2 separate regions of the Homo sapiens genome follow, and region 2 is linked to region 1. The links are contacts of gene promoters, found by promoter capture Hi-C in blood cells and fetal thymus (Javierre and others, 2016). All regions are on one chromosome and are shown on one strand. Each heading gives the region's core, a stretch centred on a gene start or on the middle of the fragment in contact. The rest is flanking DNA. Distances are from core to core; before and after follow the strand shown. Region 1 holds the start of LMBR1L (limb development membrane protein 1 like). Region 2 holds the start of DDN (dendrin).

Evidence for each region. The method cuts DNA at HindIII sites, captures the fragments that hold promoters and counts their contacts. A CHiCAGO score of 5 or more calls a contact.
Region 2: a fragment that was not itself captured here is called in contact with the fragment with the promoter of LMBR1L in region 1 in 1 of 17 cell types (naive B cells); the score reaches 5.6 in naive B cells.

The regions. Positions count from the first base shown.
Region 1 is chr12:49,108,551-49,113,359 of GRCh38, reverse strand. LMBR1L (limb development membrane protein 1 like) reads left to right here and starts at 2,513. Exons shown (of 17, transcript NM_018113.4): 1 at 2,513-2,876. The coding sequence starts at 2,805. RefSeq lists a silencer at 1,767-1,947 and an enhancer at 2,805-3,344. The HindIII fragment of the contact is 30,486 bases long and covers 1-4,809 here.
Region 2 is chr12:48,997,773-49,002,581 of GRCh38, reverse strand. It overlaps DDN (dendrin), which reads left to right and starts at 3,207. Exons shown (of 2, transcript NM_015086.2): 1 at 3,207-3,503; 2 at 3,916-4,809. The coding sequence starts at 3,295. DDN-AS1 (DDN and PRKAG1 antisense RNA 1) reads right to left here and starts at 4,235. Exons shown (of 2, transcript NR_147179.1): 1 at 3,892-4,235. It overlaps PRKAG1 (protein kinase AMP-activated non-catalytic subunit gamma 1), which reads left to right. Exons shown (of 12, transcript NM_002733.5): 12 at 1-308. RefSeq lists enhancers at 2,542-2,836, 4,506-4,575 and silencers at 2,982-3,276, 3,926-4,385. The HindIII fragment of the contact is 218 bases long and covers 1,886-2,103 here.

The DNA of each region.
Region 1 (4,809 bases), core at 1,264-3,763:
GATTACAGTACCCACCACCATGCCCAGCTAATTTTTGTATTTTTTAGTAGAGACAGGGTTTCACCCTGTTGGCCAGGGTGGTCCTGAACTCCTGACTGTTGGAAACAAGCCCCCCCCAAAATCTGGCCATAAACTGGCCCCAAAACTGGCCATAAACAAAATCTCTGCAGCACTGTGACATATTCATGATGGCCATAATGCCCCGCTGGAAGGTTGTGGGTTTACTGGAATGAGGGCAAGGAACACCTGGCCCACCCAGGGCGGAAAACCGCTTAAAGGCGTTCTTAAACCACAAACAATAGCATGAGCGATCTGTGCCTTAAGGACATGCTCCTGCTGCAGATAACTAGCCCAACCCATCCCTTTATCTCTGCCCATCCCTTTGTTTCCCATAAGGGATACTTTCAGTTAATCTAATATCTATAGAAACAATGCTAATGACTGGCTTGCTGTTGGGTAAATCTCTGTTCCTGGCTCTCAGCTCTGAAGGCTGTGAGACCCCTGATTTCCCACTTCACATCTCTATATTTCTGTGTGTCTTTAATTCCTCTAGTGCCGCTGGGTTAGGGTCTCCCCGACCGAGCTGCTCTCAGCACCTGACTTCAGGTAATCCACCCGTCTCGGCCTCCCAAAGTGCTAGGATTACAGGCATGAGTCACCGCGCCCGGTCTTATGGCCAATTTCTTTTTCTTTTCTTTTTTTTTTTTTTTTGAGATGGAGTCTCGCTCTGTCACCCAGGCTGGAGTGCAGTGGCGCGATCTCGGCTCACTGCAAGCTCCGCCTCCCGGGTTCACGCCATTCTCCTCCCTCAGCCTCCCGAGTAGCTGGGACTACAGGCACCTGCCACCACGCCCGGCTAATTTTTTATGTTTTAAGTAGAGATGGGGTTTCACCGTGTTAGGCAGGATGGTCTCGATCTCCTGACCTCTTGATCCGCCCGCTTCAGCCTCCCAAAGTACTGGGATTGCAGGCGTGAGCCACCGCGCGCGGCTAATGGCCAATTTTTAACTGCTCACTGAACTATGCAGCTGGATGTTGCTTTAAGAATTTAGAGGAGGTCGGGTCTGTTGGCTCACGCCTGTAATCCCTGCACTTTGGGAGGTCAAGGCAGGCCGACAGCTTGGGCCCAGGAGTTCAAGACCAGACTGAGCAACATGGCAGAATCAGCTAAGTGTGCTGGTGCCTGCCTGTGATCCCAGCTGCTCAAGAGACTGAGATGGGAAGATCACTTGAGCCTTGGAGTTGGAGGCTACAGTGAGTCGTGATCGCACCACTGCACACCAGCCTGGGCGACAGAGTGAGACTGTCTCAAAAATAAATAACTTAAAAGAAAATCTCCCTTCGTCTAAATCCTGTCTACTTCCAAGACACACACACACACACACACACACACACACACACACACACACACACACACACACACACACAAAATCTTGGCCGGACGTGGTGGCTCACGCCTGTAATCCCAGCACTTTGGGAAGCCGAGGCGGGCGGATCAACTAAGGTTGGGAGTTCAAGATGAGCCTGACCAACATGGAGAAACCACGTCTTTACTAAAAATACAAAATTAGCTGGGCGCGGTGGCGCATGCCTGTAATCCCAGTTACTTGGGAGGCTGAGGAAGGAGAATCGCTTGAACCCGGGAGGCGGAGGTTGCAGTGAGCCGAAATCACACCATTGCACTGCAGCCTGGGCAATAAGAGCGAAACTCCGTCTCAAAAATAAATAAAGAAATAAAAGCTGAATCACAACATCTTCCTCTGAAGTGTTGTTGTGACGTTAAAAATGAGATAATAGGCTGGGTGGGTCACGCCTTGTAATCCCAGTACTTTGGGAGGCCCATCACTTTGAGACTAGGAGTCCGAGATCAGCCTGGGTAACATGGCTGAGATAACGACTATAAAGTGAATGGCACATAGTAAGTGGTTAGCTAATGTTTGACTCAGCCCCACTCTTCAGTGATCCTTGTGGGCATTTCTTCACAAAGTTGCAAGGTATTTCTGTAGTCCTCTCTCCAGTATTTTTCAGTATTTGTTCTAGCACACACTAGGTCTTCCACAAAAATGATTGAATGAAAACTCCTGGCAGCGGGAAAGCGGGGTGGGGATGTGGGGAGGGGCACCCCAACACAAACACACAGAAAATGCTACTACAGAACATCGGTTACTGGGCAGCGGTACATTTCAGAACCCCTAGGGTGCCCTCACATCCTGCCTGGCTGGCCTGCTTCAAACGGTTCATTTAACCAAGGTCATACTAAAATGTTGGCTGCTACTAAAATCCAGGAACCTTCACTTTTCCCAGATAAGAGAGACAGTTGCTCTATTAGTATGGGCAGCGGTAGGCCCAAAAGATCCCGCCTTCCTCCACAGGGCGAGCCTATCAGCGCTCCTCCAGCGATGAACGACAGCTCTCCAGGAGCCAATGAGTTCCTCCCCCTGGAAGGAACCCGCCCATCCCTTGTGTCGTCACTAGATCTCTTAAAAAGATGGACCCTCAGCGGCGCTTCCTCGTAGCGAGCCTAGTGGCGGGTGTTTGCATTGAAACGTGAGCGCGACCCGACCTTAAAGAGTGGGGAGCAAAGGGAGGACAGAGCCCTTTAAAACGAGGCGGGTGGTGCCTGCCCCTTTAAGGGCGGGGCGTCCGGACGACTGTATCTGAGCCCCAGACTGCCCCGAGTTTCTGTCGCAGGCTGCGAGGAAAGGCCCCTAGGCTGGGTCTGGGTGCTTGGCGGCGGCGGCTTCCTCCCCGCTCGTCCTCCCCGGGCCCAGAGGCACCTCGGCTTCAGTCATGCTGAGCAGAGTATGGAAGCACCTGACTACGAAGTGCTATCCGTGCGAGAACAGCTATTCCACGAGAGGATCCGCGAGTGTATTGTGAGTGCGGGGCCCCGGCGAGGAGAAGCGGGGGTTGCGGGAGACGGGGAGGTTGGGGTCCGAGCCCACCTGGTCTCAGAGTGCCGTCAAACCATGCCTGGGCCAGCGGCGGGCGACGGAGGCCTCCGTCCGGGCAGAAGGGCGGGTGCCCGGCTAGCGATCCCCTAGATGGGATCAGCTGGGTCCCTGAGCGATAAACAAAGGCCGTCGTTTCCGTTCCTCCCCCACACGCCCCTCCCCTGCCCCTCCCTCCCACCCCTCACCCAGCGCGTCTTCCTGTTGGGGGTCTCCGGGGTCTGAGAGCCTGCGGAGTCTGCCTTAGTCTGATAATCGGGGAAGGATGGGTTTGCTTCTCAAACTGGGTTGAGGGCAAACTCAGCTGACGTTGGATGAAGGGGAGACGTCGTCACACTGAGCTTGATTCCAGAAAAGAGGGGAGGTGTAGGGATGGCAGACGGGAGGAACCTGGGGACTTGGTGGGTCATCTGCTTTGGAAGAAAGGAGTCTTGCTGGGGTGGATCCTAATATGTAGAGATGAGGAACAACCAAGTATTCCCCCGTCTTTTTTCTTTCTCATTGGTGTTTGTTTGAAACCCTGCAAGGCTGGGTTCCCAGCCTCTCAGCCATTCCGGGGTTTCCCCAGTGAGTGGTCCTCCCAGGGCTTCAGAGGGTACCTGGCTGCTGTTCCTTACGCCCTCCCTGCCACTTAGAGCGACAACTGAACCTTGCGCACAGAAGTGGACTACTCAATTCTGGGGTAGGGGTACCCAGTGGAGCTTAGGGTGTCATATCTTTCTCAGCCTTGCTTTGAATTTTCACCTCTCTCCTTTCTCCTGTGTCCTTCCCCAGAGCTCACCAGGGCAACCCTCATCTCCAGATAGTAAATGGAAAGGGAATGGTTTGGAAAAACAGAAAGAAATGTTAGTAAGTGTGGGAATCCATTGTTGGGGTCATTCCCTTCATTTTTCTCAGGCTGGGCTCTAGCCAGCCCTGGGCAGCCTGATTGGAGGAGGGGTAAATTGAGCCAGGACATAATTAGGTCTGCTCTTATCTGTGAGGACAGGAAAGTATATTAGTCTGTGTGTGCAACTCCAGTAGAAGTGTGCTTTCGGCAAGCCTTCCTTGTGTGTTTCTTGGTGGACAGTCCACATGGTGGGTTGGGCATATTGCAGAGGCACACCCAGGCCTTGAGACAGTGTCGGGCTGGAGGCTCAAATTCCTAGAGAACAGGGAGGGATGAGACCTTGGACAGAAGCAGCCTCCTGGATGTCTCCCTAATCCTTTAGTCCCATGAGCTGAGAACATCAGTGCTGGCTAAGGGTAGCCTGAAGACTTATGGTGCCTCCCCCACCTGGCTCTCATCTAGAGGCTAGAGAGCAGCCTAGCTTCTTGGAACTGCGTGGAACTCCAGCCTGACCTTTTGAGCCCTCCCACCTTCCTGGCTATTACGCAAGCCCAGAGCAGAACACAGGCTATAAAAATCTTGCAGCTACAATCTGAGTGGCTCCTTCTGTTCTGCTTCCCTAATATCAAAAGCTATGACTTTGTTCTAGATCGATGGCTCTCCTGCGTCTCTGTGGATTCTTCCCTCCTTGTACAGATAGCTGTATGTGTTTTCCTTGTGGGGTCAGCCCTTTCTGGAGACTGGAAGACCCATGAGACTGATCTTGTATTCTTGGCCTATCTCAAACACAATAACTTCTCTTCTTGAGACTCTCTGGTGTTTTTTTTGTTTTGTTTAGTTTTGTTTTTGACCTAGTCTCACTCTGTCGCCCAGGCTGGAGTGCAGTGGCGTTATCTCTGCTCACTGCAACCTCCGCCTCCCAGGTTCTAGTGATTCTTGTACCTCAGCCTCCCGAGTAGCTGGGATTACAGGCACCTGCCACCACACACGGCCTTTTTTTTTTTTTTTTTTTTTTTTTGAGACTCAGTC
Region 2 (4,809 bases), core at 745-3,244, 110 kb after region 1:
CCCAGACCTCACTTGCCTCTGCCTCCATCTTGGCCCTGATTCAACCCTAAGATAATAGCACAACAAAATTCTTCATAAAGATATTTTTATTCACCTGTTCCGTGCTATATGGAGGAGGCCAAGTCCATTTAGTGACATTTCTTCCCATAATGTGAGTGGGGAGGATTGTGGGGAGGAGGGGCTTTGGGTTCCTGTGTTTGTGCATATGAAGGGAGATGGGGGTTAGGTGGAGGAGGAGAGCAGCGTGGTTAGCTAAGGTTATTGCTTTTTGTGGCAAATCTAATTAAATGACAGGAATCTCTTCACGATATTGCAGTGTTTGATTTTTACAGTTGATGGGTACTACCTTCCTACTTTATATGGCTTCTTCAACTGGTCATTAACAATAATAATAACGTGTGTACGCACACACACACGTACACACACACGAGTAGACAGACTTGAGGGTCTCCTTTGGGCAGAGAATCCTGCCACCATTATCAGCTTTTCTTAGTTGGGGAAGGTTGGACTGTTTGGCTTTTGCTGAGTTGGCACTATCTTTTTTTTTTTTTTTTTTTTTTTTTTTGAGATGGAATCTCACTCTGTTGCCCAGGTTGGAGTGCAATGGCGCAATCTCAGCTCACTGCAACCTCCGTCTCCCGGGTTCAAGTGATTCTCCTGCCTCAGCCTCCTGAGTAGCTGGGACTACAGGCGCGCGCCACCACGCCCAGCTAATTTTTGTATTTTTTAGTAAAGACGGAGTTTCACCCATATTGGCCAGGCTGGTCTCGAACTCCTGACCTTGTGATCTACCTGCCTCAGCCTCCCAAAGTGCTGGGATTACAGGCATGAGCCACCGCACCCGGCCAGCACTATCTTTAAACCTACAAATCCCTTGCCTCTTCCAAGGTGAGAATGAGCTGGATGGTGGGAGAACAGCAGGGCAGTGGTCACTCCATCAGATCCATTCCCTGTATTGAAAGCATGTAGACCCAAACAGCAGTCAGCACCCAACATCAGAAGAACTGCTAGACTGGAGTATGAGCTAAATTTGGGTGCCAGCTCACCCCAGCCTTGCAGGTATGATACAGTTTCCCATCCAAGCCAGGAGCAATTTCGGAGTCATTCCTTGCCCCTGCCCCACAGTGCCTAACCCCTCTGATAACCCTCCAGCCAGGGCATACTGGGTTCTCCTGATGGAACACAGGGAAAAGCATCAAGGCCCTCATCAGATTCGACCTGAGGAAGCTTATTTTAAAAAAAGAAGGTGGCCCTCATCAGAGCTCAGCTTTCAGTGTTGCATCATGGCTGTGGAGGAGCCCCTGCTTCTGCCTTCACCCCTTTACAGCTCTCACAGCACATTCTCAACCTTGGGGGAGGAAGGCTTCCAAGTTATTAGAATTAGAGTATGTTTATGTGTCAGGAGGGTAAGCACATGGTGGAAAGGACAGATGGCCCCTTATGTCACATTCCCTCATTAAGGAAGATTTGCCTAGGGAGGAGGCAAGGGCTTTAAAAAGCCTCAGGACTCTAGTGGGACCTAGGGTGGAAGGAAGCATCTTCGAGTCAAGTCATCAGTGCAGCTGGCAGGTGTGTGGAATCAAGGGGGGTAGGGTGGATGGGACGGGATGTTTGCGTTCTCTCTAAAGGTTTGTGTTAGGGAGCAGAGACCTGGTTTTGTTGAGTTGTTTCTCAGTCTGTCAGTCTCTGCCCCACAACCTTTCTGGTTGTTCCCCATCCCCTTAAAAGGAAGGGTCTGGACCCAAAGGGCTCCATGTACATTAGTGGAAAACTAATTGGGAACTCTTGCTTCTCCCATTTCCCTCTAAAACCCAACCTATCCGTCTCAGTGTGAGGATGAAGCTGAGGGAGAGACAAGGGATGAAATTTGGGAGACTCACAAGCTTCTATTCTTACCTATTCCTCTCCAGAGAGGCAAATTATCCCTTCTTCCCGAGGAACCATGCCCCACACACTCTCCCCTCTCTCTGCACTGCTCCCCTCCACTGAAGCTGCTGCCATGGTTGCCAGGCATGGTTGCTAAGTCTCTGCATGGAAGGGTTGGCGTGGGCTGTGCTGCCACTAACATTACCATGGTGAATCAGGGGACACCTGGTATAAGCTTAGGAGGAGGGATCATGTGGATATAAGCAACAGCCCCCCAGGACAGAGGCAGCCCAAAAGGTGAGCATCTGGAGCACCACTTAAGGTGGGGACTGAGTGAACTAGGCATTGTGGTGGTGGTGAGGGGGAGTTCTACATTGAAAAAAATAAAGGCCACTTTTATCATTTCAGTTGCTAGGGGATTAGTTTTGCCAAGCAAACACATCATTTCTCCTCCATCCCCCTCTGGAAGGGTGAGAGTGCATAAGCACTTACTCTGTCCTCCATAAAGCTGGGCAGGCTGTGTGGGCACAGAACAATATAACCCCCAAATCCTGGCTTCTGGATTGGAGGTGAAAGCCTGCTGCTGTGGGAGGGCTCCCTGGCTGCCCAAGGACAAACATGTAGAATGGAACTGGTAGGGCAGCTTGGGTGGCCAAGGCAGACGCCTGTGTCCTGCTGTACCAGCAGTCCTAGGCTGCAGCACTGAGCTGACAAGGAGATACGGGTGTAGGGGTCACCCTTTTTGAGCTTAGGGAAGGCAGCTCTCCCTCAGAGTCGCACAAAAGCTTGGTAAAAGCCACCGCCTCCTCTCTCCACCGCATGGGAGCTGGTTACTCATCTCATCTCTGCACCCGAACAGCCACTGCCGCTAAAAATAGCCCCCCAGCCGTGGGCCAGCCCCTCCTGCACCCCAGCCCCATGGAAACCAGCAGAGTGGCAGGCAGAGACCTTGAGTTCCAATCTCATCACTCTATGTTGGGGAAACTGAAATCTGAGGCAGGAAGCCAGGGGCAGAACCCTGGTGGTCAGGCAACCTGACAAGCAGGAGAGTAAAGGGTTAAAACGGCAGGAAGGTTGAAGAAATAGGGGCGGGGGAGGGGGCACTGTCAGCTTGGCAAGAATCATAAGTCCCTCCCCCGCCCACTCGTGCGATCCCATCAGGCTTGGGGGACAACAGCAGTGGGAAGGGGCGTCCAATCCCGGGCCCCAGGGGGCGGCCGTGCACATGGGGGAGGTAGCAGCGCGGAGCAGTCCGCGCGGTGTCACATGCGCGCGCACACACAGAGACAGGCACACACACGTGTGCCCGGGTATATATAGTTCCCAGTCCCCGGGCCCGCGGCTCTGCAGTGGGCGCCGGCTCCCTGGGCTGGGAGGGGGCTCCTGGGGCGGGTGGGAGGGTGGGGGGCCGGGGTGGGGTGGGGCAGGATGCTGGATGGCCCACTGTTCTCCGAGGGGCCTGACAGCCCCCGGGAGCTCCAGGATGAGGAGTCTGGCAGCTGCCTCTGGGTGCAGAAGTCCAAGCTATTGGTGATAGAAGTGAAGACTATTTCCTGTCATTATAGTCGCCGCGCCCCTTCTCGACAGCCCATGGACTTCCAGGCCAGCCACTGGGCTCGCGGGTTCCAGAACCGCACGTGAGTGAAGCAGGGGTGAGGGGAAGAGAGTGGTGGGGCGGGGAGTGGGGTCCGGACCTCCCCGCAGGCACCAGCGAGCACTGCTGGTCCCCCTTCTCTTTCCCACGCCTTCCACCTCTGCCCGCTCCCGAGGGCTGGGGCCTGACTCATCCCGTTGTTTGGGGGAACAGAAGTGGGTGTGAGAAAGGGCAGGAGGTGAGATGGGGCAGACGCTGTTAAAGTGTGCATGGAGAGATGGCGAGGAGTCCCGCTTCGACTTCAGTCCTAACATATACGCACGTGCACACGCGCACACACTCACACACACCCCTTCACATGGCTGCCCCAAGTGGTCTCCAGTGCTCCCAGCTCCCCGGACCTCGGCTCCCTTCCCCCACAAACTGCTCACCTGGGTTCCTGCTCATTGTCCCAGGTGTGGGCCGCGCCCGGGATCCCCACAGCCGCCGCCCCGCCGGCCCTGGGCCTCCAGGGTGCTGCAGGAGGCGACCAACTGGCGGGCGGGGCCCCTGGCCGAGGTCCGAGCTCGGGAGCAAGAGAAAAGGAAAGCGGCGTCGCAGGAGCGGGAGGCCAAGGAGACCGAGCGAAAAAGGCGCAAGGCTGGTGGGGCCCGACGGAGCCCCCCGGGTCGACCCCGCCCGGAGCCCCGCAACGCCCCTCGGGTGGCCCAGCTGGCAGGGCTCCCTGCTCCCTTGCGGCCGGAGCGCCTGGCGCCTGTGGGGCGAGCGCCCCGTCCATCCGCGCAGCCGCAGAGCGACCCAGGGTCGGCGTGGGCGGGGCCCTGGGGAGGTCGGCGGCCCGGGCCCCCAAGCTACGAGGCTCACCTGCTGCTGAGAGGTTCTGCCGGGACCGCCCCACGACGCCGCTGGGACCGGCCGCCACCCTACGTGGCTCCACCTTCTTACGAAGGCCCCCATAGGACCTTGGGGACTAAGAGAGGCCCCGGGAACTCTCAGGTGCCCACTTCATCAGCCCCAGCTGCGACTCCAGCCAGGACAGACGGAGGGCGCACAAAGAAGAGGCTGGATCCTCGGATCTACCGGGACGTCCTCGGGGCTTGGGGTCTCCGACAGGGGCAAGGTCTCTTGGGGGGATCCCCAGGCTGTGGAGCGGCCAGAGCAAGGCCAGAGCCCGGCAAGGGGGTCGTGGAGAAAAGCCTGGGGCTGGCTGCTGCTGACCTGAACAGTGGTAGCGACAGCCATCCCCAAGCCAAAGCTACAGGGAGCGCAGGCACCGAGATAGCTCCTGCGGGGTCTGCAACTGCGGCTCCCTGTGCCCCGCATCCCGCTCCCAGATCCAGGCACCACCT